Regions from separate parts of the Homo sapiens genome. Here region 2 is linked to region 1. The links are contacts of gene promoters, found by promoter capture Hi-C in human tissues and cell types (Jung and others, 2019). All regions are on one chromosome and are shown on one strand. The core of a region is centred on a gene start or on the middle of the fragment in contact, and the rest is flanking DNA. Distances in the headings are between cores, read along the strand shown. Region 1 holds the start of ZNF717 (zinc finger protein 717). Region 2 has its middle 270 kb from the start of ZNF717.

Region 1 (4,315 bases), core at 609-3,108:
CCAATAGGTGTTCAAGAGAGAGGCCTGTAATCTAGGCGTCTGAGAAAGCAAGGCTAGAGATTCCGATATTGGAGACAACAGGGCTCTGGGAAGATTAAGGTTGAGTTTTCTGGATCTGCAGAATAGAGTCACTGAGGAGCAATTGCAAGATCCGAGGAGATGAAAGAACAAGTCAGGGCATGCTTAGGAAAAGAGAAAACCAGGGATAGGTTTTAGGCAAGAGTCACACTGAGGAAGGGCAGGTTCTTGGCGTCGCTCAGGAAGGAATCCAAAAGCAAGCCTGTGGTGGAAGAAAGCAGCTCTACGGAGGCACTGGCGGTGTTACAGCCCTGCGTCCACTCCTGCAGGGCAGGGAGCCCTCCGTGGGTTGTGCTCCCAGAGTAGCAGCCTGGGGGTGGCTTGCAGTCATTTTTATAATTCACTTTTAATGGCATGCTAATTAAGGGGCGGGTTATTCAGAAATAGCTAGAAATGGGCAGTAACTTCCAGCTGTTTCCATGGCAAGGGGTGGGGACTTCCCGTGCTGCCGTGGCATTGGCAAACTGTCACGGCACTGGTGGAAGCGTCTTCTGGTGATCTGAGGCGTGAGGTGCTTTCGCTGCCTCTCCCAGTCTCCTGCGTGCCTCTTACCTGAAAGCCCTTCACACCCTCATCTGCCCACCTACAAACTTCACTGCCCTTTCACCCCAACCCCGTTTCACACGCACTCCCACATCAACCCTGAGCATTCAAGCTTGCGTTTCCCTGTTAGGAACCTCGGTGGTGGCCGGAGCTCTGAGAAACCCCTAGGCAGAAATCCTTGCCTAGTTTGTGGCAGAAATCAGGGAAGGAAAGGCAAAGTTCAGGTCTTTCTCACAATAAATAAATAAAGATAGCTAGATTTGATTGATTGGTGGATGGATGAAACGTGGGAGTTTATGGGCAAATATTTATCAGACACTGGAAGTGTAAGTTGTCACAAAGATTATGGAGTGCACCTGTCTTATGACCCTGTTATTTTATCCCAGTATATGCACTAGAGCATTTTTTGTAACTGTGTAAATTGAAGGCTTATAAATTAGTTTAGTGAGAGAAAAGATAACGGATTGGAAGAGAATTACCATATTCATTAGTTGTGTTTTTAAAATTTTAAAGTAAAATAGAGACATGATTTTTTTCATGCTTTCGAATGCATTTATAAAAAATAGACTTGAGGGCTGGGCGCAGTGGCTCACGCCTGTAATCCCAGCACTTTGGGAGGCCGAGGAGGGCGGATCACGAGGTCAAGAGTTCGAGACCAGCCTGACCAACATGGTGAAACCCCGTCTCTACTAAAAATACAAAAATTAGGTGAGTGTGGTGGCGCGCACCTGTAATCCCAGCTACTCAGGAGGCTGAGGCAGGAGAATCGCTTGAACCCGGGAAGCGGAGGTTGCAGTGAGCCGAGATCGCACCATTGCTCTCCAGCCTGGGTGACAGAGTGAGACTCCGTCTCAAAAAAAAAAAAAAAAAAAAAGTTACTCATTAATAGCATAGACCAATTGGCCTCTATTGAAATTTCTCCATTATTTTCACAATGTGCCAGGCTGTGAAACCAGGATTTAATAAAGAACCAGAATGCCACATCTGTGTCACCTGGGTAGGGACCAGTCCTGATCCATTAAGTCCGGGTCTCTGGGTAACTGGACTCACTGCTGGGCAAAACAGAATGTCCGGCTTGGGTTCCTAACCGGGGACCGCAGAGCCTCATGGGAAATGTAGTGTCACCTTCCAATGATGTTACCATCAAGGACCTTGGGAACCAGCTTTTCTCTCTGCGCATGCGCCGCCCCGCCCACTCCGCCATTTTCCTCCGGAAGTGCGGCACCCAGAGGCGGTCTTGTAGCTGGGCCAGCCTGGGGCTTGGTTCTATGTCCCTGCGGGTCGGTGCGAGGGCGAAGAGGAACCCGTGGGCCCGGGGGATCCCGGGGGGCCGGACCAGTGTTCCCCAGTTGTGGGAGCAGACGCGTGGGCGCATCGCGGGCGGGCAGGGCCTGAAGTGCAGGTGCAGGCCGCGGACCCTGGCGGGGGCTGGGAGGACAGGCGTGGGGTCCCGGCAGTGAAGCGGGTTCTAGAGGCGCAGGAGCGGGTAGGCGAGGCCGGTGGCCCTGGGCCCGGAGTCTGCAGGCCGCGCTCCTGTCCTGCCGCTGAGGGAGCCGGTTACCAACCCGCATGACGCTCAGTTTGCCCATCTGTCCCAGTGCGAACACACAGTTCTCGGGAGACGTTCCCCATTCCCAGAGGAGTAGTGCGAAACGCGTGCGCCTCGAGTCTTAAACTGGGCGTTTGTATTAGTTGGGTTTCCCGGTGTCTCTTTAGCAAGTGAAGTTTCTGGTTCCCTCCTTCACTGTGTGACCTGCCTAGTCCTCCTGGGTTGCGTTTACAGAAGTTTATACGAGACCTAGTTTCCAGGGAAGAACTCACTGATGCCGCGAGGGAGATGGGGTACTGGATGATGGTCTTCAGCCTTAAGGGTACTTCAGTCTTAACCGTGTGTTATAAGGTTTGAAAGGGAGGGTTCCCTATGAATAAGAAGCGCACTTGAAAGAACAGCCCTCTGGTCTAACCTCCCACTGGTGCTTCAGAGGAGGATAAAAGGTCACAGGTGAAGATCCCAGTTTTCCTCGCTCGGGAAATATTAATTCTACTCCCTAGAATGCACAAGATTTGCAAAGACTAGGTGACAGTGGTAGGTTTGGACGAACTTTCAGAAGGTTGAGGTGAATTCGGCTGAGAAGAACAGGCAAGGACCTAGGAAATATTCCTTATTTGAAGGGGCCTGAAAGTGTGGTCTGGGGTACAGGAGTGACCTGTCATACCTGAGAAGATTAAAATACTCTCCAAACACAGTCCCATTCCTTCAACCTTTCCTCGTTGTTTCCAGCGTTTGAGATATATTAAACCTAGTCCATCACCAAATTTAGCTTTAGCATTAGATTGTGAAGTTCTATCGATTGTATTTGATTTGTAATTTAAGACTTTCTCCCCCTACGTAATTTTGTTAAAAACATATTGAATTCTGTTCACTTAGGTGTAACAGTTAATACTTGCTGTTTAAGGAACTAATTAAACCTTACTGGCTTATAAAAAACAACCACCATTTTATTTGTTTGAAGTTCTGTGGATCTGCATTTTGGTGTGGTGGGTTCAGCTGGGTAGTTGATATATTTATGTTGCCTGGATCACAAAAGAGGCCTTGGTCACATGGTGGGTTGACTGAGCCTGGTTGGTTTAAGATAGTTTCCTTCACAATCTGGCGGTTTGTGGTGACTCTTGGCTAGGCCCTGTGTCTCCACCAGGGTAGCTCCAGACCTCCTCACAATATGACTGTGTCCAAAAAGGCAAGAACCAATGGATATTTGCATCACATTTTCCATTGTCCATTCACTGGACAAGTCAGATGGAAAAGCCCAATTTATTGTCAGAGCATAATATGAGGGCTTGGATACAGGGAAAGGTGTTATTGGGAAACATGAGTAGAATGGTGTACTGCAGGAAATACATATTATGTACATTTAAAAAAAAGTAATTGTAGGCCAAAATTGCTGGGTTGCAAGATGCACTTTCCATGATGTTCAGGTATAGAAAAGCAAGATGTACTGTCATGGGAACACTCATATGAAGTTATTTGTGGAATCCACATATTAATAGGAAAATAGTTAATACAGCCCAGTATATTTCTATAACATTTATTTTAGTGAACTTATAATGTTTCTTTGTATTAAATTATTAGATTGTATCTTTAGGTAATATTGTTGCTAAATTAGTAGGTAATACATATTTTTATTCAAAATAAATTGTGCATCTAATGTCTACCAATTAATGTACTTGTAGATGTATCTTATCTTGAGTCTTTGCTGCCCCTAATGAGGCTTGAAGGACTCTTCTCCCATGGGGAAGTTTTTCTTTTTCAGGAGGGAGGAGGGCTTTTCCAGGTAATGTGTCTAGAGTGTTGGGCAGAAGAATCTGGGACCACACCACACCAGTTCTCTCCTTAATTCACGTCATTTGCCTTCTCTCTCAGCTATGTTTCCAGTGTTCTCTGGCTGTTTCCAAGAGCTACAAGAAAAGAATAAATCTCTGGTGAGTTGTTTATTTGTTCTTCACTTTGTTTTACACTGTATTTTCTGAGTTTATGGGTGTCTGTGAATTAAAAAAGAAAAGTGGAAATAAGTAAAACTCAGGTTGAAGGAAATATACATAAATAAGATAAAGCTGACCTGTAGATATAGACAGGTTGTAAGAGCTTAGAGTTGTCTAAGTTGAGTGCAAATTTTCCTCTGATCTTTCTGATGCA
Region 2 (4,315 bases), core at 475-2,974, 270 kb before region 1:
ACACTTCTCAAAAGAAGACATTTATGCAGCCAGAAAACACATGAAAAAATGCTCATCATCACTGGTCATCAGAGAAATGCAAATCAAAACCACAATGAGATACCATCTCACACCAGTTAGAATGGCAATCATTCAAAAGTCAGGAAACAACAGGTGCTGGAGAGGATGTGGAGAAATAGGAACACTTTTACACTGTTGGTGGGACTGTAAACTAGTTCAACCATTGTGGAAGTCAGTGTGGCGATTCCTCAGGGATCTAGAACTAGAAATACCATTTGACCCAGCCATCCCATTACTGGGTATATACCCAAAGGATTATAAATCATGCTGCCATAAAGACACATGCACACGTATGTTTATTGCGGCACTATTCACAATAGCAAAGACTTGGAACCAACCCAAATGTCCAACAATGATAGACTGGATTAAGAAAATGTGGCACATATACACCATGGAATACTATGCAGCCATAAAAAATGATGAGTTCATGTCCTTTGTAGGGACATGGGTGAAGCTGGAAACCATCATTCTCAGCAAACTATCGCAAAGACAAAAAACCAAACACCACATGTTCTCACTCATAGGTGGGAATTGAACAATGAGAACACATGGACACAGGAAGGGGAACATCACACACTGGGGCCTGTTGTGGGGTGGGGGGAGGGGGGAGGGATAGCATTAGGAGATATACCTAATGCCAAACAACGAGTTAATGGGTGCAGCACACCAGCATGGCACATGTATACATATGTAACAAACCTGCACGTTGTGCACATGTATCCTAGAACTTTAAGTATAATAATAATTAAAAAAAAAGGCAAGGAAACAATCTTGCATACCAAATAGCAAAAAAAAAAAAAAAAAAAAAAAAAGTTTCTGCTGTTTCGACGTGTGATAGTTCATGTGCAACGTTCATCAAGTGGAAATCGTCACTCTACCTATTTCATCAATTAGGTCGCAATGAGTTTTATAACTATACACTAGGTGCTTCATGCAAAAGGCAATATTACATTTAAAATATGAACTTATTAGAACTTTTAAAAACATTCAGTAGTAATAACTATAGTATCTGTTTTCCTTTTAAAAATGTTCTTTACAGAAAACCAAACACCGCATGTTCTCACTCCTAAGTGGGAGTTGAACAATGAGAACACATGGACACAGGGAGGGGAACATCACACACTGGGGCCTGTTGGAGGGTAGGGGGTTATGGGAGGGACAGTATTAGGAGCAATACCTAATGTAGGTGACAGGATGATGGGTGCAGCAAACCATCATGGCATGTGTATACCTACGTAACAAACCTGCACATTCTGCACATGTGTCCCAGAACTGAAAGTATAGTTTAAGAAAAGGAAAAAAAAAACAAAAAGCTCTTTATAATGAGTACAATTCTGAACCTTATAACACTATCCTCCTAAAATAACATTATTGGATTTCTTTTTCTACCTCACTCATGTTCCATTTATAATCATAACCCTTCACAAACACACGGTAAAGGCAGTGATTTATTGTACTGTATTTTTAACTACCTATCTACATTTATGCTTTGCTGTTAAATCTGTCATTCCTGACAAACACAGCTAAACAAAAACATTTGTTTATGGTATGAGATTAGGAACAAAAATCAAGAAAAATGATTTAGAACAGGGAATGGTCTGATTTTTCAGACAAAAAAAAACCAATTGAATTGTTACTTCAACAAGGAAAGATAAGACAAAGGACATTTGGTGAATATTTGCAAAAAGGAAAAAAAAATCTGGTCTTGTTGGTCGGCGGCAGTGATCTACAGCTCTGTATAATACGGTTCCAGCTCTATAAATCTGTTCTACTCCACAACACTTTCCCAAGAAACTGATATATTTCTAAAAAAGTTCCATCTACATGTCACCCTGGAAGCTTACTATGTTGGGGATAATTCCGAATGCAGAAGTGTGCAGCACAACCCCTTTTTGTGACCCAAAACTGACTTATTTATCAACCATGAACATGTTTATAAAGTAAATATAGAAATATTCTAGCATTTTAAGGAGAATGCTTGTCTCCTTTAAAGTATTTCTAACCTTCCGAAGATTCTAAATGTTAACATCTCTAAGCATAAGAAGCTTTGTTCCTCCTGAGGTACTGAGGATCATACTTATTGAATTACTGAAGGAACAAACGTGTTGTATAAACCCAAGGATGGAGAGTCTAAATGACTTTAAGGAACTCCAGCAATGTCCCAGGCACTGCAGGCTGTGGGTGGCACATATTTGAATAAGCCCGCATACGCCTAGTATCAGATTGAAGCACGTATAAATAAAAGGTCTTAGAAGGTGAGAGATAACAGTAAGTTAAAATATTACACACACAGGAAGGGAATCCACATCCTCATGATAAAATATTTTAAGATCTCATTTTGTTTCTAACTGGTCTTTAGAAAATTTGAGGAAATCCAAAGTTAAGTAGACAGAATATTCAGGTAAATAACATAGTTTAAATACACACACAGGCATACACAACATAATCATTTTTTTAAAAGGACCATAACTTTTAGCTGTTTTGTTTTGTTTTAATGAGGGATTGAAACTGCATACTATTAACATATGTCCAAAAATTGCAATTTACTACATCTGACATTACACTTTCCTCTATTATAGGGTAGACTTTAGCAAACCAATTTGCAGATTATAAAGTGCTACCAATCACCACTTGTGAATTCATAATCTACTGATGTATGTTTAAGATTTGTACCTCCTTAAATTACCATAAACATCTGCAACCCTCCCATCATAAATGTTCCTCAGAATGTTACAAGACTCAAATTTAAGTGTATGCTAAGTATTCTGAAGGCAATTGCTTCAGTGTAGTGATACATGTAAGAACCTTTTTCTTTTCTTTTTCTTTTTTTGTAAACTCCTCTATAAACAGGCAACAAAACTTCAGTATTTTAAAAGTGAATGGGTTTTTTTTCTTCAATTTTATTTTGGAGACCCTTTTAGAACATGTAGTTAAAATTAAATACAACCATCATGATCATGCCTTTTAAAAACGCACCATTTTTTAAAGAAAATATCACGCAATTTAAAGGTTTTATAAGCAGGGTTAGTATTAGAACTATATTCTATGGGCTAATGATTTCTGTTTAAGAATATTTTGTTTCAGTCTGAATACAGTCATCCCTTGGTACCTGTGGGGCACTGGTTCTAGGACCCTCCTCAGAATCTGCAGATACTCAAGTCCTTTACATAAAATGGTGTCATATGTGTATATAGTCTATGCGCATCCTCCCGTATACTTTAAATTATCTACAGAGTTGTTATAATACTTAATACAATGTGAATGCTATGTAGTTGTTATACTGTATTGTTTTTCATTTGTATTATTTTTATCTTTTTTTGTTTTTCATTTTCTCAACTATTTTCAATCAGCACTTGGTTGAATCCATGGATGCAAAACCAGAGGATGTATTTTTAATCCCAGAAGTGTTGAATGAGTCGTGAGTCACAAAAACTAGTAAAATTAGTCAATCAAGTTTGTTCTTAAAAGCTGGTGGTCCAGCCAGGTGTGGTGGTGCATGCCTGTAGTCCCAGCTACTTGGGAGGCTGAGGCAGGAGAATCGCTTGAACCCAGGAGGCAGAGGTTGCGGTGAGCCGAGATCGCGCCACTGCACTCCAGCCTGCCGACAGAGCGAGACTCCGTCTCAAAAAATAAATAAATAAATAAAATAAAAGCTGGTGGTCAACAGTTGATTAGATAAAAAAAAAGTATACATACACCTTGGAATACCATACAGTCACAAAAATAATAAAATCATGCCCTTTGCAGCAATGTGGATGGAGCTGGAGGCTATAATCCTAAGTGAACAAACCCAGAAGCAGGAAATCAAATATTTCACATTCTCACAAGTAGGAGCTAAATAATGGGGGCACATGGATATAAAGATGGAGATAATAGACACTGAAAACTCCAAAAGGGGGGAGGGCGACAGGGGAATGAGGGTTAATAAACTGCCTATTGAGTATAATGTTCACTATTTGGGTGACAGGTGCACTAGAAGTACATTTCCTGCCATCACGCATGGAATAGCCATGTAACAAATAATCTCTGCATCTAAAATTAGAAAATAAGATAAATACAATAAAAAGATGGTGGTGACAATTAATAAGGTCTGCCTGATATGGTTTGGCTTTGTGTCCCCACCCAAATCTCATCTTGAATTGTAGCTCCCATAATCCCCACAGGTTGTGGGAGGGACCCCGTGGGAGATATTGAATCATGGAGGCGGTTTTTTCCATGCTGTTCTTGTGATATTGAATAAGTCTCATGAGATCTG

The links. Contacts are between HindIII fragments. The study calls those that stand out against the background at their distance.
Region 2: a fragment that was not itself captured here is called in contact with the fragment with the promoter of ZNF717 in region 1 in 1 of the 25 tissues and cell types used here (thymus).

Annotation. Positions count from the first base shown.
Region 1 is chr3:75,783,092-75,787,406 of GRCh38, reverse strand. ZNF717 (zinc finger protein 717) reads left to right here and starts at 1,858. Exons shown (of 5, transcript NM_001290208.3): 1 at 1,858-2,023; 2 at 4,043-4,101. The coding sequence starts at 4,045. RefSeq lists an enhancer at 1,596-1,745. The HindIII fragment of the contact is 7,615 bases long and covers 200-4,315 here.
Region 2 is chr3:76,055,147-76,059,461 of GRCh38, reverse strand. It overlaps a transcript of ROBO2 not described here. Among named protein-coding and RNA genes, the nearest start is that of ZNF717, 270 kb to the right of the region's middle. The HindIII fragment of the contact is 5,119 bases long and covers 1-4,283 here.